2 separate regions of the Homo sapiens genome follow, and region 1 is linked to region 2. The links are contacts of gene promoters, found by promoter capture Hi-C in blood cells and fetal thymus (Javierre and others, 2016). All regions are on one chromosome and are shown on one strand. Each heading gives the region's core, a stretch centred on a gene start or on the middle of the fragment in contact. The rest is flanking DNA. Distances are from core to core; before and after follow the strand shown.

Region 1 (4,305 bases), core at 1,662-4,161, 750 kb after region 2:
CCCAGTAGCTGGGATTACAGGTGCCGCACCACCACGCCCAGCTAATTTTGGTATTTTTAGTAGAGACGGGGTTTCATCATGTTGGCCAGGCTGGTCTCGAACTCCTGAACTCGTGATCCGCTCGTCTTGGCCTCCCAAAGTGCTAGGATTACTGGCGTGAGCCACTGCCCCTGGCAACACTGAGTATCTCGGTACACAAATATTTGGACTGTGTGTCCAAACATTTCTTTTGGACATATTCAAAAGGTTATGCATATTTAACAGATATTAAAATTGTTCTCTATAAAAAGGTTGTACAACTTAGAACCTTACCCCCAATTTATACTTTCTCATTGTTTCTTATTTCCCATTTTCCTAATTACCATCAAGGTTGAGGATCTTTTCATGTTTATTGGCCATTCGTGTTGCTTCTTTTGTGAATTGTTTTTCTTAGTCTTTGGTCTTTTTTTATTTTTTATTTTTTTTTTTGAGATGGAGTCTCTCTGTTGCACAGGCTGGAGTGGAGGGGCGCTATCTCGGCTCACTGCAATCTCCGCCTCCTAGGTTCAAGCAATTCTCCTGCTTCAGCCTCCGGAGTAGTACAGGCGCCTGCCACCACGCCCAACTAATTTTTTGTATTTTTAGTAGGGACGGGGTTTCACCATATTGGCCAGGCTGTTCTCGAACTCCCGACCTCTTGATCCGCCCCCGTGCCCTGCCGGGTCTTTTAAAAATGGTATTGTCTCACCCGGCTCCCCTCCCATTGGTTTGTAGGAATATCTTTTAAGTTATAGATATTAACTTTTTCCTTTCTTCTGTCTATAAGGTCCAAAATAGTAACTATTTCTACAATTGAAACATTCCCAATTTACATTTACTGTTGAGCATGATAATGACTTTCACCACATAGAGACGTGTAATTTTAGGTAGTCAAATCTGTCAAGTCTTTTCTCATATTGCTTCTGGGTTCCCTGTCAAGCTTAGAAACACATCTCTTCCAAAAATTACAGAAATATTTTTCTACTTTTTCTTCCATGTTTGTATCTCTCTCCCTCTCTTTTTTTTTTTTTTTTTTTTTTTTTTTTTTTTTTTTTTTTTTTTGAGACGGAGTTTCGCTTTTGTTGCCCAGGCTGGAGTGCTCACCGCAACCTCCGCCTCCAGGGATCAAGCGATTCTCTGTCTCAGCCTCCAGAGTAGCTGGGATTACAGGCATGCGCCACCACGCCCAGCTAATTTTGTATTTTTAGTAGAGACGGGGTTTCTCCATATTGGTCAGGCTGGTCTCGAACTCCCAAGCTCAGGTGATCCGCCTGCCTTGGCCTCCCAAAGTGCTGGGATTACAGGCGTGAGCCACTGCGCCCGGCCATGCTTATATCTTTAATCCAACCATATACTATTTTTGTGAAGGATGGAAGTAAGGCTCCCCTCAAGTTAATTTTTCTCCAATCTGGCTTGCAGGAAAGGGGTTTCTGGGGAGATTTTACCGAGCAACGTAGGGAAACGGCTGCCTGGCTACCTACCCCTTTTTGACACCCACACGTGCTCGGCACCTTACATACACTGCGTGATTTTATCCTAAAGCCACTTTTAAAATCTTAGTGTGTAAACAGAGAAACTGGGCGTCACATAAGGCAAGTGACCTGCACAGCCTGCTCCGGAGGAGACCCGTACGATCCCAGAGACAAGCACTGAACATAAGGCACCCGGCGCCGCGCCCGCTTTGCAACCTCTCGCGACAGTTGTACGTCATCCGAGAGCGCCGTGGAAGTCGTGCTGCAGGCGTCGCGCCAATCTTCGCTCTGAGGTGCTGTCTCACCGGTGAGACCTGGAAGCGGGCGAGTCTCGTGCTGTGTCGGACCTGCAGCCCCTGGCCTTCCGCCACCATGGAGTACCTCATCGGTATCCAAGGCCCCGACTATGTTCTTGTCGCCTCCGACCGGGTGGCCGCCAGCAATATTGTCCAGATGAAGGACGGTGAGAGGAAGCAGGGGAGGCCCGGCCAGGCCTGGGGTGTAGGAGCGGCCAGAAGGAGTTTGTCGGGGGTTGAATAAGTACCAGGGAGGATCTGAGAGATGGAAGCCGGCCTGCCCTGCCCGTACTTATTTTATTTATTTATTTATTTTTTCGAGAGGGGTTTCGCTCTTGTTGTCCAGGCCGGAGTGCAATGGCGCGATCTCGGCTTAGCACAGTCTTTGTCTCCCGGGTTCAAGCGATTCTCGTGCCTCAGCCTCCCGAGTAGCTGGGAACAGATATGCGCCACCACGCCTGGCTAATTTTTGTATTATTAGTAGAGATGTGGATTTCTCCATATTGGTCAGGCTGGTCTCGAACTCCCGACCTCAGGAGATCCGCCCGTCTCGGCCTTCCAAAGTGCTGGGATTACAGGCGAAACAGGCAGACAGGTCTGGGACCTTGGCATTTGCTCCTCCAGGGCTCCTGGGTCAGTGCTCTGCTCTGGCCTTCGCTAAATGCTTCTTGCTTGGTGAGAGTTGCCTAAAGGGAATCAGTTTATAAATGTTTAAGCGCCTGCCCAGAGCCTGGCTCTCTAGATCCCCGAATCTCTGATAAGTTTCCTGGTGTCGCTAGTAATGAGGTTAGTTTGTTGGCGGCATAAGGTGGGATCCTGAGGAGAGTGAGACTGTGGGACTGGCTCTCTAGATCCCCGAATCTCTGATAAGTTTCCTGGTGTCGCTAGTAATGAGGTTAGTTTGTTGGCGGCATAAGGTGGGATCCTGGGGAGAGTGAGACTGTGGGACCAGAAGCTTGGCATTTTCCTTCTTCCCGTGGCTCCCGATTCTTCTTTTCCAGTTTTCCAGAGCAATGGCTGCCAGGTTTTCCTTATATTTAAGTAGTTAATGGAGTTAAGAGATTGGAGCCCTGTCATTTATTTGCCTTATGAGTTTGTATAAGTTATTTTGCAGTGCCCAGATTTCCTCATCTTTAAGATTAGCAATACCAAACTCACAAACTTGTCGGGAGGATTTAGTAAATGAGTTATGTGCAAATCCTTAGCACTAGGCAGGTACTTAATAATACTAAGTGTACGTAGGTGCCCAAACATATTTGTCAAATGACCATTAAGTCATCTGAACCAAAGCTTAATACTTTTTCAACAGTAGCACGTCTTTGATCAGTTAAGGAAAACAAACTTAGATTCTGCAGAAAAACAACCAAAATCTTCTTAAAATTATGTATTGAGTAATTTAGTATAGATAGTATAGTATAGTATAGTATAGTATAGTATAGTATAGTATATTATAGTACTTAGGGGCAAAATGTCTGGACTCACTGCATAGGTTGAACCCAGGTTCTGCCACTTGTGACCTTAAGCAAATTTCTCTAACTCCGTGCCCTAGAGCTAACATCTATAAGGTGGTAATGTAATAGCACCTATCTCAAAAGGTTAATGAATTAATGTAAATCACTTAACATAGCACCTTATACTTTATGAAATTCTATGATTAGTTTGTAGAAGTTTTGTTTGTAAGCCAGTCCTTCCAAAGGAGTGAATTTGTTTTGAGAGTAAATTTGTCCATTATTTTGAATACTAAGGTCTTTGACAAGCAAGTGATTTTAACATTAAGTCATGTCTAGGTAGAACAATAATCATTATCTTTACAGGTCTTTTGTTTCATCCCAAATGTATGTGAAATCACATTGAAAAGTAGAATGTGCTTTAAGCCTACTTATGTACACAGTACTTTTAGTCATTATAGGGGATGCAGTATATTACTTATAACCCATAGAAGAGTCCAAGACATTAAGAAAACAAGGAAATAAATGCTGCAAGATGATTTTATATAATAAAAGAAGTATTACTAGTTAGTAGTAGGTTGGTTTTTAAATTAATGAGTTCAAGAGCAAATCCTAAGAGTAATAAAAGAAAGATAACTATGGTATGGGAGAAAGATGAATTTGAGTTAGTTCTTGAAAAATAATTGGAAATAGTTGCACTCTGCACATTCCAATTTTCCCTATAGTCTTTTCTGGTATAAAACAAATTATAATAGAAATTTTAGTATTGTATGATGACTTTTTTATTTATTTTATTTATTTATTTTTGAGACAGAGTCTCGCTCTGTCACCCAGGCTGGAGTGCAATGGCGCGATCTCGGCTCACTGCAACCTCCACCTCCTGGGTTCAAGCGATTCTCCTGCCTCGGCCTTCCAAGTAGCTGGGATTACAGGCGCCCGTCACCATGCCCAGCTAATTTTTGTATTTTTAGTAGAAACGGGGTTTCACCAGTTTGGCCAGGCTGGTCTCAAACTCCTGACCTCAGGTGATCCACCTGCCTCCGCCTCCCAAAGTGCTGGGATTACAGGCGT
Region 2 (4,207 bases), core at 1-2,500:
ACATTAATTTCCTTCTCTGAGCACTGGCTTCCTCAGCTGTAAACAGCCTCCTACCTAATACTGTCTCAAGTGCTCCATGCAGAGTGTGGCACAACGGTGGGAGCTGTCCTGATTACTCTTGTTAGTCAGCCCTATCAGCAGCTCAGTGGGCACCAGGCATTCAGAGACAAAGGACACAGGTAGAGGCAGCCAGACTTCACTCATATCAGCTCTTGTGTCCTGGCACTGCCTATGTGGAGATGACAAATGCACATACACACAAGTGGCCACACACCCTAGGAAAACCCAGCAGTGCACACAAGCTTAGACACGTGTGCCCACACATGGATATAGAGTGACCCAGGGGACAGCTGGAAAGACAGCCAAGAGTTAGACATCATAAGCAGCAAACACCCTGACTCACACCTCTGGGACAAGGGAGTGGGGCTACGGCCGCTGGTGCTGCTGCCACTGAGCCCTTCTAGCTGCTTCTGCATGCCAAGGGAGGGAAGCCAGGCTCTTAGAGGGCCCCAGTGAGTCACTTGCCTGATGCAATCCCTTTAAAGGGCTCATCTGCTGGTGCAAGAAGCTGATTCATGGAGGGCGTGGTTGCTGGAGGAGGAGGAGAAAGGGACCGAAACTGCAGCAGGAGGAACTGAGGTTAGATAGCTGTAGTCGCTAATAGGAACGCTTCACTGTAAACCTCCCTGGTCAAGGCTTCAGGGATCTCCAGGTTGAAGGTTGCCATCCTCGGGGTTTCTACAAAGGCGACAGACCTAGAGGGAAATGAATTATGAGCGCTGCGACAGGAATTTCTGTCTTTTATTGAGCCTAACTGCAGGGCTTTCCTCACAGAGTTCCACAAACCGGGAAATGAGGATCAAGGATGAGTCACTTTTCTGATAAATACACTACAATTGGCCGATCTTCCAACCGCTGGGGACTTCAACCTCGGCAGGGGGAGTGTAGGGCCCGCGAGGTTCTGTGGGGTCGGGCGGGGCGGTGCCTCCGTCCCAGCCTCGCCGCAGATATAGATCAGCAGTAAGTACCGCCCCATTAGAGCCTCGGCCTCCAATCGTGTAACAGGTTTCGCCCAGACCCCACCCTGAACCAATCCTCAATCGGACTCTGGCCTCTTGCCTGAAGTCTTCCGCCCATCGTCAAGATGGCGCCCCAATCCGAAAGCCGTGGGGCTGGAGACGCAGGCGGAGGGCGGGGCCCGGGGGGGCGGGGCCGCGGCTAAGGCTGGGGAGGAGGGGGGCGGTGCGTCACTTCCGTTGTCAGGTGGCGGCGCCGCAGCCATGGAGGGAGGCGGCGGCGGCGGCGGCGGCGGCTCGGGTGGCTGCGCTGGGAGGCGGCGGTGAGAGGCTCGCACGCCTCCAGCCCGGCCCCGGCCCCCCGGGAGGGAGAGCCGAGCAGCCCCGGCTCTGGGCTACGGACTATGGGCGAATAGCTCTGACCACCCGGCGAAGGTGAGGGCAGGGGTCCAGGAGCGGGGAGCCGGGTGGGGGTTGCGGGTAGGCGGGGCGGGCCCCGGCGGCCGCGGCGGTGGAATCGGAGTGACAGCCTGAAGCCATCTGAGTGCAGCAGAAATGGCCCCGGCGAATGCCCCCTCCTCCGCTGGGGCTCTGCCCTTCCCCGGCGGCAGGGGCGAGGGCTGCCTCGCGCCGGGTACCGGGAGGCCGCGGGAGCTTCAGTCCCCGCCGCAGCTCTGGGAAGTGGGCACTGCCAGCTTTGCCTAGAGTCACCCAGCCAGTGAGTGAAGCAACCGGCGTGTGAATCCAGCCAGATCTTTCCAAAAAGACACCTTCTGCCTCTCCGTGTTTCCCTCCTAATCCCGAGGGTGACTTGATAGTTAGAACGAGTCCCCAGGGAGGGCCAGCCAGGGCTTCCTCCAAGAGCCCTCACTCTGGCACGGGCGCTACCGCTGCTGGGGAATTTTCATATCCCGGGCGGCGTTCAGGTACGAGTCACAGCTACCTGCTTGCCAAGGCCACGTTTGGCCGGCCTTTTCCAAGGAGAGCTTGCTGTGGTCAGTGTTTCACCTGCCGAGCCGGTCAGGCCCGCCCATTCCCACGCCACTTGGCCCCGCCTTCCAGCCAGTTAGGTAGGGACATTCGGATTCCTGATGCCGAGTTTTCTGCCCACCCCAATCCCCAGGTTTGAAGCCCTTTTGTTAGCGGAAGGAAGAGATGACAGCCGCCCTCTGTGTGGCAGGATAGACTTTGCTCTGTTTTAAGTCACTGGAGGAAACCGGTTGGCTTTGCTTTGGTTTTGAGAACCAGTGGGGAAGAGGGTAGGCATACTGGGCTGGGCGCCTTTCCCTCTTTGAGTAGTTTTGCGTGAGATAAGGAAGAGCAGAATGTGTAATTGTAGGGCCAAAATAATCTTGTTTGTAAACAGTGCCTGTGAGCTCCTTTAGTGCTTCCTAATGGCCGTGCTGTGCAAGTTGTTGGTTGGGTTAATCTAGACAGTCCTCATTCATTCATTCATTCATTTCTCACATGACCACAACAAGAGTCCTTGCCTAGAGGCAAGTGCTAGACAGCATAGTGGTTAAGAGTAGGCTTTGGAGCCAGACTTCCTGAGTTCAAATTCTGGCTCAGCAACTTTCCAGCTGTGTGTACCTGGGCACATTGCTTAGTCTCCCTGTGCCTCAGTGTCTTCGTCTATAAAACAAGGATGATAACAGAGAGAGATATTATGAAGAGTAAAAAGTTAACATGTAAAACATACAACCATGTTTGCCACGTAATAAGAATTCAATAAATGTTATCTATTTTTATTTCAAGGAGCATACAGTCTAATTAAGGGAAATTGACCTGTAAACAAATGGTTGAAATGTGGTCTAAAGAAGCTAGTAGTGGCTGGGCGCCGTGGCTCATGCCTGTAATCCCAACACTTTGGGAAGCCGAGGCGGGCGGATCACCTGAGGTCAGGAGTTCGAGACCAGCCTGGCTAACATGGTGAAACCCCATCTCTACTGAAAATAGAAAAATTAGCTGGGCATGGTGGCACAGGCCTGTAATCCCAGCTACTCGGGAGGCTGAGGCAGGAGAATTGCTTGAACCTATGAGGCAGAGGTTGCAGTGAGCCGAGATCAAGCCAGTGCACTCCAGCCTGAGTAACAGAGTGAGACTCTGTCTCAAAAAAAAAAAAAAAAGAAGAAGAAGAAGCTAATAGCAGCAGCAAGAGAGTACTGTGGGAGCCCAGTGGAGAAAGGGAGAAAGCTGTGAGCTCAGCCTTGGGGGTGGGGTGGGGACGGGAGTGTGCCATGAAAAGGCTTGGCAGAAGTGATGCTGGAGCTGAGTCTAAAAGGAGAGGAGGGGAGGCTTAGCCAGGTGAGAATGAATACTTTGAGAGCGAGATAGACAAATAAACTCATAGTTTATTCCAGAAATCTCAGATTGTTCAATCTAGTGGTATGGAAGTTGATATGGTGCAAGTGAAGCAGTATAGGTTCATGAAAGAATGCCATATTAGCAATTTGAGATATCATGCCCAGGGCAGCCGGGAGCAAGTGAAAAGGTCTGAAGCAGAGGAATGACATGATTGGTTACATATTTTAGAAAGATTTCACTGGAGTCCCAGTAGAGGAGGGAAGGAGGAGGACAGGAGCGACTGAAGGGCTGGAGAACTCTTCGGAGACAAACCTAGGCTTCTGAGAGAGGAGAGTTGGTGCTGGGGCGATGGATCTTTGCTGAGGAAGCACCATGTGCAACCAGTGCCAGATGGCAAGCTCCTGCATTGGCCTGGGCTTCTCTGCCTGGCGCAGAAGTGCCTGGCACATGTGCCCCTCTCTTCCTGGGATTGTAGGTTGCTTGAGCAGCTGGAGAGATAAGACTGCCCTCTCAGAAGGCCAGTTGTAAAGGGTGCTGTGTTTGCTAACTTGTGCTTTTAATCTGACCTTTGGGGAAGGCAGTAGATTGTAATAGTTAAGAGGTTATTTGAGGCCGGGTATGATGGCTCACGCCTGTAATCCCAGCACTTTAGGAGGCCGAAGTGGGCAGATCACCTGAGGTCAGGAGTTCAAGACCAGTCTAACATGGAGAAACCCCTTCTCTACTAAAAATACAAAATTAGCCGGACGTGGTGGTGCATGCTTGTAATCCCAGCTACTCAGGAGGCTGAGACAGGAGAATCTCTTGAACCTGGGAGGCGGAGGTTGCGGTGAACCAAAATTGCATCATTGCACTCCAGCCTGGGCAACAAGAGCGAAACTCTGTCT

Evidence for each region. Contacts are between HindIII fragments. The CHiCAGO score rates a contact against its expected background, and 5 or more counts as called.
Region 1: a contact is called between a fragment that was not itself captured here and the fragment with the promoter of STK40 in region 2, in 1 of 17 cell types (erythroblasts). The highest score is 5.4, in erythroblasts.

The regions. Positions count from the first base shown.
Region 1 is chr1:35,638,990-35,643,294 of GRCh38, reverse strand. PSMB2 (proteasome 20S subunit beta 2) reads left to right here and starts at 1,769. Exons shown (of 6, transcript NM_002794.5): 1 at 1,769-1,953. The coding sequence starts at 1,863. RefSeq lists enhancers at 864-1,828, 1,581-2,040, 1,829-2,794. The HindIII fragment of the contact is 335 bases long and covers 2,744-3,078 here.
Region 2 is chr1:36,382,967-36,387,173 of GRCh38, reverse strand. It overlaps STK40 (serine/threonine kinase 40), which reads left to right and starts at 1,250. Exons shown (of 11, transcript NM_001282547.2): 1 at 1,250-1,451. LOC124904012 (a long non-coding RNA gene) reads right to left here and starts at 983. Exons shown (of 2, transcript XR_007065779.1): 1 at 847-983; 2 at 1-755. RefSeq lists enhancers at 403-772, 803-912, 1-936 and silencers at 1,143-1,522, 1,673-1,742, 2,043-2,092. The HindIII fragment of the contact is 3,916 bases long and covers 305-4,207 here.